Regions from separate parts of the Homo sapiens genome. Here regions 2 and 3 are each linked to region 1. Evidence: promoter capture Hi-C in 16 types of primary human blood cells and fetal thymus (Javierre and others, 2016). All regions are on one chromosome and are shown on one strand. The core of a region is centred on a gene start or on the middle of the fragment in contact, and the rest is flanking DNA. Distances in the headings are between cores, read along the strand shown.

Evidence for each region. Contacts are between HindIII fragments. The CHiCAGO score rates a contact against its expected background, and 5 or more counts as called.
Region 2: a contact is called between a fragment that was not itself captured here and the fragment with the promoter of ZNF330 in region 1, in 1 of 17 cell types (total CD4 T cells). The highest score is 6.3, in total CD4 T cells.
Region 3: a contact is called between a fragment that was not itself captured here and the fragment with the promoter of ZNF330 in region 1, in 2 of 17 cell types (total CD4 T cells and naive CD8 T cells). The highest score is 7.6, in total CD4 T cells.

What each region holds. Positions count from the first base shown.
Region 1 is chr4:141,219,267-141,222,643 of GRCh38, forward strand. ZNF330 (zinc finger protein 330) reads left to right here and starts at 1,629. Exons shown (of 10, transcript NM_014487.6): 1 at 1,629-1,842; 2 at 3,100-3,225. The coding sequence starts at 3,106. RefSeq lists enhancers at 1,414-1,920, 1,921-2,425. The HindIII fragment of the contact is 10,650 bases long and covers 1-3,377 here.
Region 2 is chr4:143,212,892-143,216,268 of GRCh38, forward strand. USP38 (ubiquitin specific peptidase 38) reads left to right here. Exons shown (of 10, transcript NM_032557.6): 9 at 690-2,052. Among named protein-coding and RNA genes, the nearest start is that of USP38, 30 kb to the left of the region's middle. The HindIII fragment of the contact is 491 bases long and covers 1,578-2,068 here.
Region 3 is chr4:143,192,957-143,196,333 of GRCh38, forward strand. It overlaps USP38 (ubiquitin specific peptidase 38), which reads left to right. Exons shown (of 10, transcript NM_032557.6): 3 at 2,760-2,889. Among named protein-coding and RNA genes, the nearest start is that of USP38, 9.7 kb to the left of the region's middle. The HindIII fragment of the contact is 3,520 bases long and covers 1-3,377 here.

The DNA of each region.
Region 1 (3,377 bases), core at 379-2,878:
ATAAATTGATTATTATTACTTTTTGTATTCCCTCCTGCCTTTTAAATTCCATTTTCATCTTGTGAAGACTGCCCTTTGAAATTCTTTCACTGAGTATCTGTGAATAGTAAAGGTTCTTTGTCTTTGTCAGAATATTTATTTTGCCATCACTCTTGGTAGTGAATACTGGCAGGCACTACCCAGATCCCTCTTCCTCAATGAAAGACTTATTTCCTGAGCTGCTGAGAGTGCAGCAAGCCAACACAATCCAGCTCTTGGCCATCTTCAGGAGTCCTTTAACCCAAGGTTGCACTCTTCTCCTTTGGCAGCGTTCATCCAGTGACTAAATGTCATAGGTGTATAAAGGTCCAGCCCAGTTCCCCTAACTCAAGACAACTCTGAAGGGATATCCCAGATTCAAAACGAGGCCTTCACTGAGACGTCACTGCAGGTCAACTCTTCCCTCTGCTCAATCCTGCTTCCATTTCTCCTGCAGATGTTGTTCCCCAAAGCATTCCCTAACATACTCATTATACTCTTCTCTGACTCAGAGTATGCTTCCTGGGGAAGCCAACCTAAAACAGTTGGTGTCAGGAGTGGTTCAAGTTAGGCTAAGATGGGATTTATGATTCGAATCACAGGCCATGTGACTATCAATGAGGACCCCCTCGGTGGTAGGTGTAGGACACACAGACCTCGGCACAAGGTAACAGTGCAATAGTTACAACTTTCATCAGTAATGAAACTGGGGTGGTATTCTAACGTAACTGGGGTGGTATTCTAATTTATATACGAGTAGGTAAAATGTATCAGGCATTTGAGAACTATGAGGGAAATAGTAACCTTAATGACAGTGGCATTGACTGTTATTGCTAAGTAAAATTGATTCTTTGAAAATAGCAAAAGGCTGAGATGGTTAATTGGCTATCAAAATCTAAGAGTAAATTCCAGAAGGCCTCTTTGGTCCAAATAAAGAGGCTTTTATCTCCTGCAGGGGGAGGGCAGGAAAAGCACAGGAATAGGCCTGGTACTGAATCCTAAGTGCGGCAGAGCTCCGAAAGAGATTAGGAAACCCAGCTTGGTCGGCTATGCAAAGGTGGAGGTGCTTGATCGGAAGGAGATTCTGATGCAGGGGGAGGATCATCAGGTTTCAGTTAAAAGCAGGCAGATTACACATTAGAGGTAGAGAATGTGGGATGATTTGTTCACAAAGGAATGGAATCCAGAGGGCATAACAGAAATAAGAGACAGGGGAGGCTGGTACGGAAGTTCATCAGGCAACTGAAGGCACAGTTTGCGCAGCAACCAAGAAAAGGTGGGATGTGAGGCACGCAAGATGTAGAGGTGGGGAAAGGTTTCCAACAGAATTCAACATGAATTTGCTGTTTGAGTCAATTGATCCAGTACCAAGTCTGTGAGTTCATTTTCCTCTTCCTTTTAGATTTCTCCTTTTTCTAAAAAAGTAAAACTGAGGGGGCCTTCCCCTGCTTTCCCTCCTTCTGCTTCCCTATTTTCCCTCGCATTCCCTTCCTTTTCTGCAGATCCTCTGCTTAGGAATGGGGCATTGGCCCCCGCAGGAGTGGGCGGGGAAGGGGCGGAGCGAACAGAGGTGGGCGGCTCCCGTCCTATGACGTCAGCCGTAAGGCGCTGCTGTCGTAAAAGGACGTCCGGTCCGTCTCCTAGTGTCCGGAATCGGCTGTCAGCCTCCCTGGCTGTTAGTACCTTCTTTCCCGGAGTCCTGGTCCACGAGTTGGATTTACTGCTGTCGCGGGTGGGCCTCACGCCATTCCCTGTCCCTCGGCCCCCTGAGTGAGTCCGGTCTCCCGGCGAAAGTGAGCGAGGTTTGCCCGGAGCGCGCACGAGGTAGGGTGTCCCGCGGGCGGGTGACGGTTGCGGGTCCCCGTTGCGGGTCCCCGAGCCGCCTGGCACCTCCGCCGCTTCTCCCCTGGACGCCCCTCCGCCCCACTGGGTCCTCCAGCTCCAGGCTGGACTCCTAAAGCCGCAGTGCCCCGTGCCTGTTTCCTCATTTGGTGACACACGCAGTGCATGCAAGAAGTTGGAGTGTTACCGGAAAAGGGCTTGAACCCGTATAAGGCTGAGAAGAAGATTCACTCTTTTGAGCGTGCAGAACAAACTGGAGGGAAAAAAAAATGAGATTTAACTTTATCAGAGGATTCAGAGGATATCTCTGAGGACGCAGAAAGTTAATCCGCATGATCACCTCGTGATTATTTTCTGAGGTTCTTTGGCCAGGGCAGCACGCCCTCTAGATTTTGTCATTTTACATATTGGAATGGTGCCTTAGTGGTCTGGGCGTTACGTTACCGAAATAACCACCTATTAAATCTGGCTATTTTTCAGTTGCTACCGTACTGCTTACCACCTGTTTTGTTTTTTTTTTAATTGAGCATTCAGTTCAGAAAACTTCAGTTTAGAAAAATCTTGTATTTCAACTAAATGATGAAAATTAAACATACTCTTAAACGTAAATTTGAACCCCGTTAAAATTACATGCTCACTGCGTGTAGAGGGAAGAGCATTTGTTAAAGTCAGAGCAACTAATACCTTAAATATCTTCAGAATGTTTTGACTTTGTAGTTAATAAATAGTGTTATTTGTTGACTGTTAGATGTTTTGTTTACATATTACATAGGAAAAATTAAACTTGTTATACTTAAGGTGTTGGCAGCGTCAGGTCATCTGAATATATAGCTCAAAAAAGTGATATAAACTGGCTAAATAATGCTCTTATTAATGATTTTTTTGTTTTTGCTAATGATACATGATTCATTTGTTTTAATGAGGTGCAGAATACTTTATCATTGGAGAAACTTTTTTCTTAGTGGGAAAAGAAGACTAGTTTGTCTTTTAGGGTAAATTTTTTTGACGTTTACATTTTTAGAATCGTTAGTGCCAATAAATGCGTTAAGGATCACCCGCTTCATTTGGAATAATATGTGCTTAACGTTTCATAAGGCTTAGAATGTGCTTAACTATCGAAAGGATAGAGTTTAACATTTAACAAGAAAAAGGACACTTTGTTATACTATTTCTTAGTTTATTAAAATAGTAAATGCAGTCAGTCAATTATATCTTTTCTGTTCTCTTGTGTCAAAATAGGGGAAAATGCCTAAAAAAAAGACTGGTGCGAGGAAGAAGGCTGAGAACCGCCGAGAACGTGAAAAACAACTAAGAGCATCAAGAAGCACTATAGATTTAGCTAAACATCCATGTAATGCCTCAATGGTATCAGCTTTTTTTGATATCAGTTGGTAGTTGGAAAAACTATATACTATTTTATCTGACGTATACCTGAATAAAATTTTAGTGAAGACAGTGTTTTTGCATATAGTTTGTTGCTGAATTTAGTATCTCTGGCACGTCTGTTGATTTCACTG
Region 2 (3,377 bases), core at 573-3,072, 2.0 Mb after region 1:
ATGTTACTAATATTAAATAATGGGTTTATTATTGTTTGCTAAATGTTAATATTTTATTTTCTCAGTTCTGACAGTAAATATCAATAAATACAACCCATGTAAAGGAAAGCTCTTTGTTTTTTAATTATTTTTAAGAGTATAAAGGGGTCCTGGCACCAAAAAATTTAAGAACCACTCCTTTAGACCAGTTCATAATTGTATGGGTTTGGTATGTTTTATTGTCGCCTGACCACTTAATTAATAAAACCTGTTATCATCTGTATCTCCCTGTCTTTGTTCTGCTCTGTGGAATGACTAGTAAAGTTAGTTGGGCTTGGTATGTGCAGCCTTCCTTCCATTCAGCTAAGAATCTATTCAGTAGTTTATTTGTGCCTGACTTTCTATGAGATGTCAGGAAGACAGAGATATATAAGACAGTTAAGGGACGTTTATAATTAACTGCAATGTAATACATGCTATTAAGTAGCAGTATGAAGAAAGTGTAATGAGAATATAGAGTAGTAATAGCCACCCAGCTTTTTTTCTGCATTCTCAAAACTGTTCAATTTTCTTTTAATTAAAACAGGAAAAACCTGATTTGTTTACATTAAATTTGATTAGAATAGTTTATAGAAGCCACTAATATTTTTAAATAGAAATGACATTTGAAGTTAATTTAAGTAGCTATATAATGATATCCTCTGCTGCAGGCTCCATGAAGAAGAAAAGATCTTGAAAGTTCAGGCCTCACACAAGCCTTCTGAAATTCTGGAATGCAGTGAAACTTCTTTACAGGAAGTAGCTAGTAAAGCAGCAGTACTAACAGAGACCCCTCGTACAAGTGACGGTGAGAAGACTTTAATAGAAAAAATGTTTGGAGGAAAACTACGAACTCACATACGTTGTTTGAACTGCAGGAGTACCTCACAAAAAGTGGAAGCCTTTACAGATCTTTCGCTTGCCTTTTGTCCTTCCTCTTCTTTGGAAAACATGTCTGTCCAAGATCCAGCATCATCACCCAGTATACAAGATGGTGGTCTAATGCAAGCCTCTGTACCCGGTCCTTCAGAAGAACCAGTAGTTTATAATCCAACAACAGCTGCCTTCATCTGTGACTCACTTGTGAATGAAAAAACCATAGGCAGTCCTCCTAATGAGTTTTACTGTTCTGAAAACACTTCTGTCCCTAACGAATCTAACAAGATTCTTGTTAATAAAGATGTACCTCAGAAACCAGGAGGTGAAACCACACCTTCAGTAACTGACTTACTAAATTATTTTTTGGCTCCAGAGATTCTTACTGGTGATAACCAATATTATTGTGAAAACTGTGCCTCTCTGCAAAATGCTGAGAAAACTATGCAAATCACGGAGGAACCTGAATACCTTATTCTTACTCTCCTGAGATTTTCATATGATCAGAAGTATCATGTGAGAAGGAAAATTTTAGACAATGTATCACTGCCACTGGTTTTGGAGTTGCCAGTTAAAAGAATTACTTCTTTCTCTTCATTGTCAGAAAGTTGGTCTGTAGATGTTGACTTCACTGATCTTAGTGAGAACCTTGCTAAAAAATTAAAGCCTTCAGGGACTGATGAAGCTTCCTGCACAAAATTGGTGCCCTATCTATTAAGTTCCGTTGTGGTTCACTCTGGTATATCCTCTGAAAGTGGGCATTACTATTCTTATGCCAGGAATATCACAAGTACAGACTCTTCATATCAGATGTACCACCAGTCTGAGGCTCTGGCATTAGCATCCTCCCAGAGTCATTTACTAGGGAGAGATAGTCCCAGTGCAGTTTTTGAACAGGATTTGGAAAATAAGGAAATGTCAAAAGAATGGTTTTTATTTAATGACAGTAGAGTGACATTTACTTCATTTCAGTCAGTCCAGAAAATTACGAGCAGGTTTCCAAAGGACACAGCTTATGTGCTTTTGTATAAAAAACAGCATAGTACTAATGGTTTAAGTGGTAATAACCCAACCAGTGGACTCTGGATAAATGGAGACCCACCTCTACAGAAAGAACTTATGGATGCTATAACAAAAGACAATAAACTATATTTACAGGTAAGTTGGAAATACAAGCTTTATTTGTTGAAAATATTAAACAATTGACACAGTTAAATGAGTACCCTCATTTTGAAATCTAACATGAGTTTTTATTAAATTCTGAAATATAGGTCTGGATTTACATGAAGTATTCTCAACCTGTATAACTAAATTGCCTTTCTAATATTGTGACAATTTAAATGAAAAGTGGCAATTAGATGTAATGCAGAAGACTTTATTTGTTCCTTACAAAAGATGGCTCATTCTGAAATCATGCCATACAAAATACAGAAAGTTTACAAAAGTGGACATATCCTCCCTCTTCCTCTCAGCCTCACCCACCAGAGGAAATAACTGCTAAATGTGGTATTTATGCCCTCAAGACTTTTGTGTAAATGTTTTAAGGGCTGTTTATTGATATTTAGGTGGATAAGATTAAAAAACACTAAAATGTAGACTATGTAAAGAAAGGATATTCATATTCTTTGAGGATGTGGTTAGTAAAACCAAGGAGATAATAGAACAATTGTAAATCGAAGCCAAGGAATGGTTTTATATGAGATAAATTTATTCATAAATATACTTTTTTCAAGGAGTTAGTGATTTTATTACTTAAATAAAGGCTAATAAAAAGTTAAAATTCTTGCTGAAAGTATTTTTTTTTTGTTTTTGAAACTTGCTAATTTGTTCTCAACATACAGGGCTAGCAGTAAATTACAGGTGAAATTCTAGGTACATTAATTGGGTAGTCTAAGTGATTTTGAGTTTGAATGAGTACATTTTGAAAATTCTGTGTTTGAAAGTCACTCCTGAAAGATACAGATAGAATAAGAAATGAGCCACTATAGTACTGATTTTTAGAGGGAAATTTTCTCAAAAGCTTTCAAATTTACTGCGTTATAAAATACACATTTTTAAAGAAGTATAGCGATGTTCTTGAGTGACAAAAACAATAAACTTTACAGAAAAAAATAGAAAATCAGAATATTTGTTTGAACTGATTAACTACTGAAGACTCTAACATCTAGTCAGATGGCTTATGATCAACATGCTAGAAATAGAATGTATTCAACTGTGTCCTTCTTACTAGATATCATATAAACACTAGTCAGAGGAGAAATATGGGTTTTGAAAGATAAAAAACTACTCTCATTTCTGTGATTAGAATCCCAAATGCTTGTATAGCCATAGCAACCACTTGTTTGTAGCTTAGCTCCAAGTGATTTTCCAGTTTATCTTGCCTTTTACCCCATTACTTTCTGATTATACAATATTTGAGCATGAGGAGCTGTTCTTTTCATTATTATTTTAAGACTCGTATGTTACTTTATTATAAAGAAAAA
Region 3 (3,377 bases), core at 433-2,932, 2.0 Mb after region 1:
GGCCAAGTGGAATTTTCTACTCTCTGCTCTCGTCCTCTCTCAGTACTCTCTTTAGACTGGCCTTGAGACCTGTATTCTGGTGAGCCCTGTCTGGTTCTGCTCTGACAGTGTGACTTCCCATGATGCAAAGAATCCACAGAGCCAAGATGTGCTCACACATACCCTGCCTTTAGATTACATCTTTTTTATGTCCATATTTACATATATATTCACATGATTTTCTTTTAAACTAAAATTGTTTTTTAAAAAAACTGCAGTGGTTTTTTTTTTCCTTGTTAATTCAACAATTTCTCAGCTCTTTCCATTTTAGATTCCTCATGGATAGATTCATGTACATCTATCTTATTATTTAAAACTCTATATACTGTTGCATAGTATCAGTACCATAGTAGCCATTTCCTTATTGACAATCATTTAGGTTGTTTGCAGTTCTTCTATACCATAAACAGTGCTACAGTGAATACCCTCTGTACACATATGCAAGTGTGTCTCTGCTTTGCTACTCTGTATAAGTAGAATGGCCACAAAATTTTATGAGAATCACCCCAACAATAGTTGGAAGACGTGGAATAGCTGTCAAGGACTATGTTAATCACTTGTAACCATCATTGTTGGAAAAGGCCAGAAAAACAAGAATGGAAATAAAGTTTGTGTAGAGAATGGAGGGAACATACACATAACTTGTAGTTAACATGCATTTGGACTTTGGGACCACTCTTAATATCCGAATGGACATTTTAATTTTAAAAGCAAAAACCTTAATAAAAAACATTCCAGTGTTAATGTAGATAGTTATATAACACAACTGTTGTGAAAATAACCATATAAATGAAGATGTCAGTCCTTTGGCCAGGCACAGTGCCTCACACCTGTAATCCTAACACTTTAGGAGGCCGAGGTGGGCAAATCACTTGAGGCCAGGATTTCAAGACCAGCTCAGGCAACCCCCTTGGTGAAACCCCATCTCAGAAAATACAGAAATTAGCCAGTTGTGGTGATGCACAGCTGTGTAGTCCTAGCTACTCAGATGGCTGAGGAGAGAGGGTCGCTTGAGCCTAGGAGGCGAACTTTGCAGTGACCTGAAGTAATGCTGCTGCACTCCGGTCTGGGTGACAGAGCGAGACTGTGTCTCAAAAAGAAAAAAGATGTCAGTCCTTTTAACATAGTAGTTGTTGTTTTAGTAATGTATTTATGTCCTTAGTGTTTATATTTACATTTTGTATAATCAAGGTATTTATTTATTGCCACATGTATTAACATTTGGTGGAAGAGAGGCATTCACAATGTTTCCAGTGTTATAGATTAATTCATTTAATCTTCACAACAGTGCTATAAAATAAGCATGTTTATCTGTAATTTACAGGTGAGGAAACAGAGAGGTTAAATAATCTATGTAGGTATTTAGGGTCCCCTAGCTAATAAATGGTGAATTGAGCTTTTTAAACCAGTCACTCTGGCTTCAAAAACTCATTTTTCCCCTTTCTATTTTCTTAGTATATAATCCCAAAAATAGGACTACTAGGTCAAATTATATGAACATTTGCTTCAGTTGCTTTCTTTTTTTTTTTGGAGACGGAGTCTCGCTCTGTTGTCCAGGCTGGAGTGCAGTGGCGTGATCTCGGCTCACTGCAACCTCCGCCTCCCAGGTTCAAGCCATTCTCCTGCCTCAGCCTCCCGAGTAGCTGGGATTACAGGCACGTGCCGCCATGCCTGGCTAATTTTTGTATTTTTAGTGGAGATGGGGTTTCACCCTGTTGGCCAGGCTGGTCTCGAACTTCTGACCTCTGGTGATCCAGCCGCCTTGGCTTCCCAGAGTGCTGAGATTACAGGCGTGAGCCACTGCATCTGACTTTCAGCTGCTTTCTGAAAGAGTTGTATCAATCTTCATTGTGGTAGAGATCTAACTTTAGGGAGTGTCTCTGTCCAATCCTATATTACTTTTTTTTTTTTTTTCACTAAATTGGGTAATTTAATGAGTTTTCTTTCAAGAAAAGCACTCATTAGTGCAAAATGAAGCCATTACAATATTTACAGACTTAGTGCTTTTTTATATATTTGAAGTTTCTTTTTGTTCTCTTTGTATAGTCGGATTTGAAAAAGATACCTCTTTCACAGTTCAAAATACAGTCTTTTTAAACAGTACATTTCATATTAGACTGTACTCACCAGGAAGGAGGAATCTTGGATCATATTCATATGTCTTAGTTCAGATTACATTTCAGCTGCTCTTTTTAGAGTAAATTTGCCTAATAAATTCTTGATACAGGTTGAGCATCCCAAATTTGAAATGTTTGAAAATCCAGTACTTTTTGAGTGCTGACATGATGCTCAAAGGAAATGCTCATTGGGACATTTCAGATTTCAAATTTTTGGATTTGAAATGCCCAGCCAGTAAATATGTAATGCAAATAATTGAAAATCCAAAGCACTTCTGGTTCCAGACATTTCAAATAAGGAATACTCAACCTGTGCCACTATATAGCATAAATTTTAAGTTTTGCGTTTATGCAAAATAATTTATCAGAAATTCTTTTTATGGAAATATGTTGGATATGAGAAACTGTCAGTTTACAAGATTGGAAATTCCATGAGAACAAGCACCTGTTACATTCACTTCTACATCTTGGTCAGTGCTTTTCACCAGCAAATTCAGTAAATGTTTATTCACAAAGTGAGTGATTATCTACTGTAACTCTTGTTATCACTAACTAAATGAAAATATTTTCAATAATGATTGTTTCATTTTCCTTCAATTTCAGAATGATTGACTGGCTATCCTGGCCATTGGCTCAGCATGTGGATACATGGGTAATTGCACTCCTGAAAGGACTGGCAGCTGTCCAGAAGTTTACTATTTTGATAGATGTTACTTTGCTGAAAATAGAACTGGTAAGTGGGAGTATGGAAATCTATTAGAATATATAGACTCATAAAATCAATATTTTTTTCTTTGGGTGGTATCCTTGAAAGCATCTAATTTTGAATATGTTATTGTTGTTTTGTTTTGAATAACAGTTTGAATAGGCTTTAGAAATTTTTTTAAATGTCATTTAAATATAAGTAATTAGGTTGGGCATGGTTGCTCACAACTGTAATCCCAGCACTTTGGGAGGCTGAGGCGGGCAGATCACTTGAGGCCAGGAGTTCAAGACCAGCCTGGCCAACATGGCAAAACTCCGTCTCTACTAAAAATACAAAAATTAGGTTGGCATAATGGTTCATGCCTGTAGTCCCAGCTGCTCAGGAGGCTGAGGCACGAGAATGACTTGAATCTGAGAGGCAGAGGTTGCAGTGAGCCAAGATAGCACCACTGCACTCCAGCCTGGATGACAGAGCAAGACTGCGTCTCAAAAAAAAGTATAAGTAATTAAAATAAT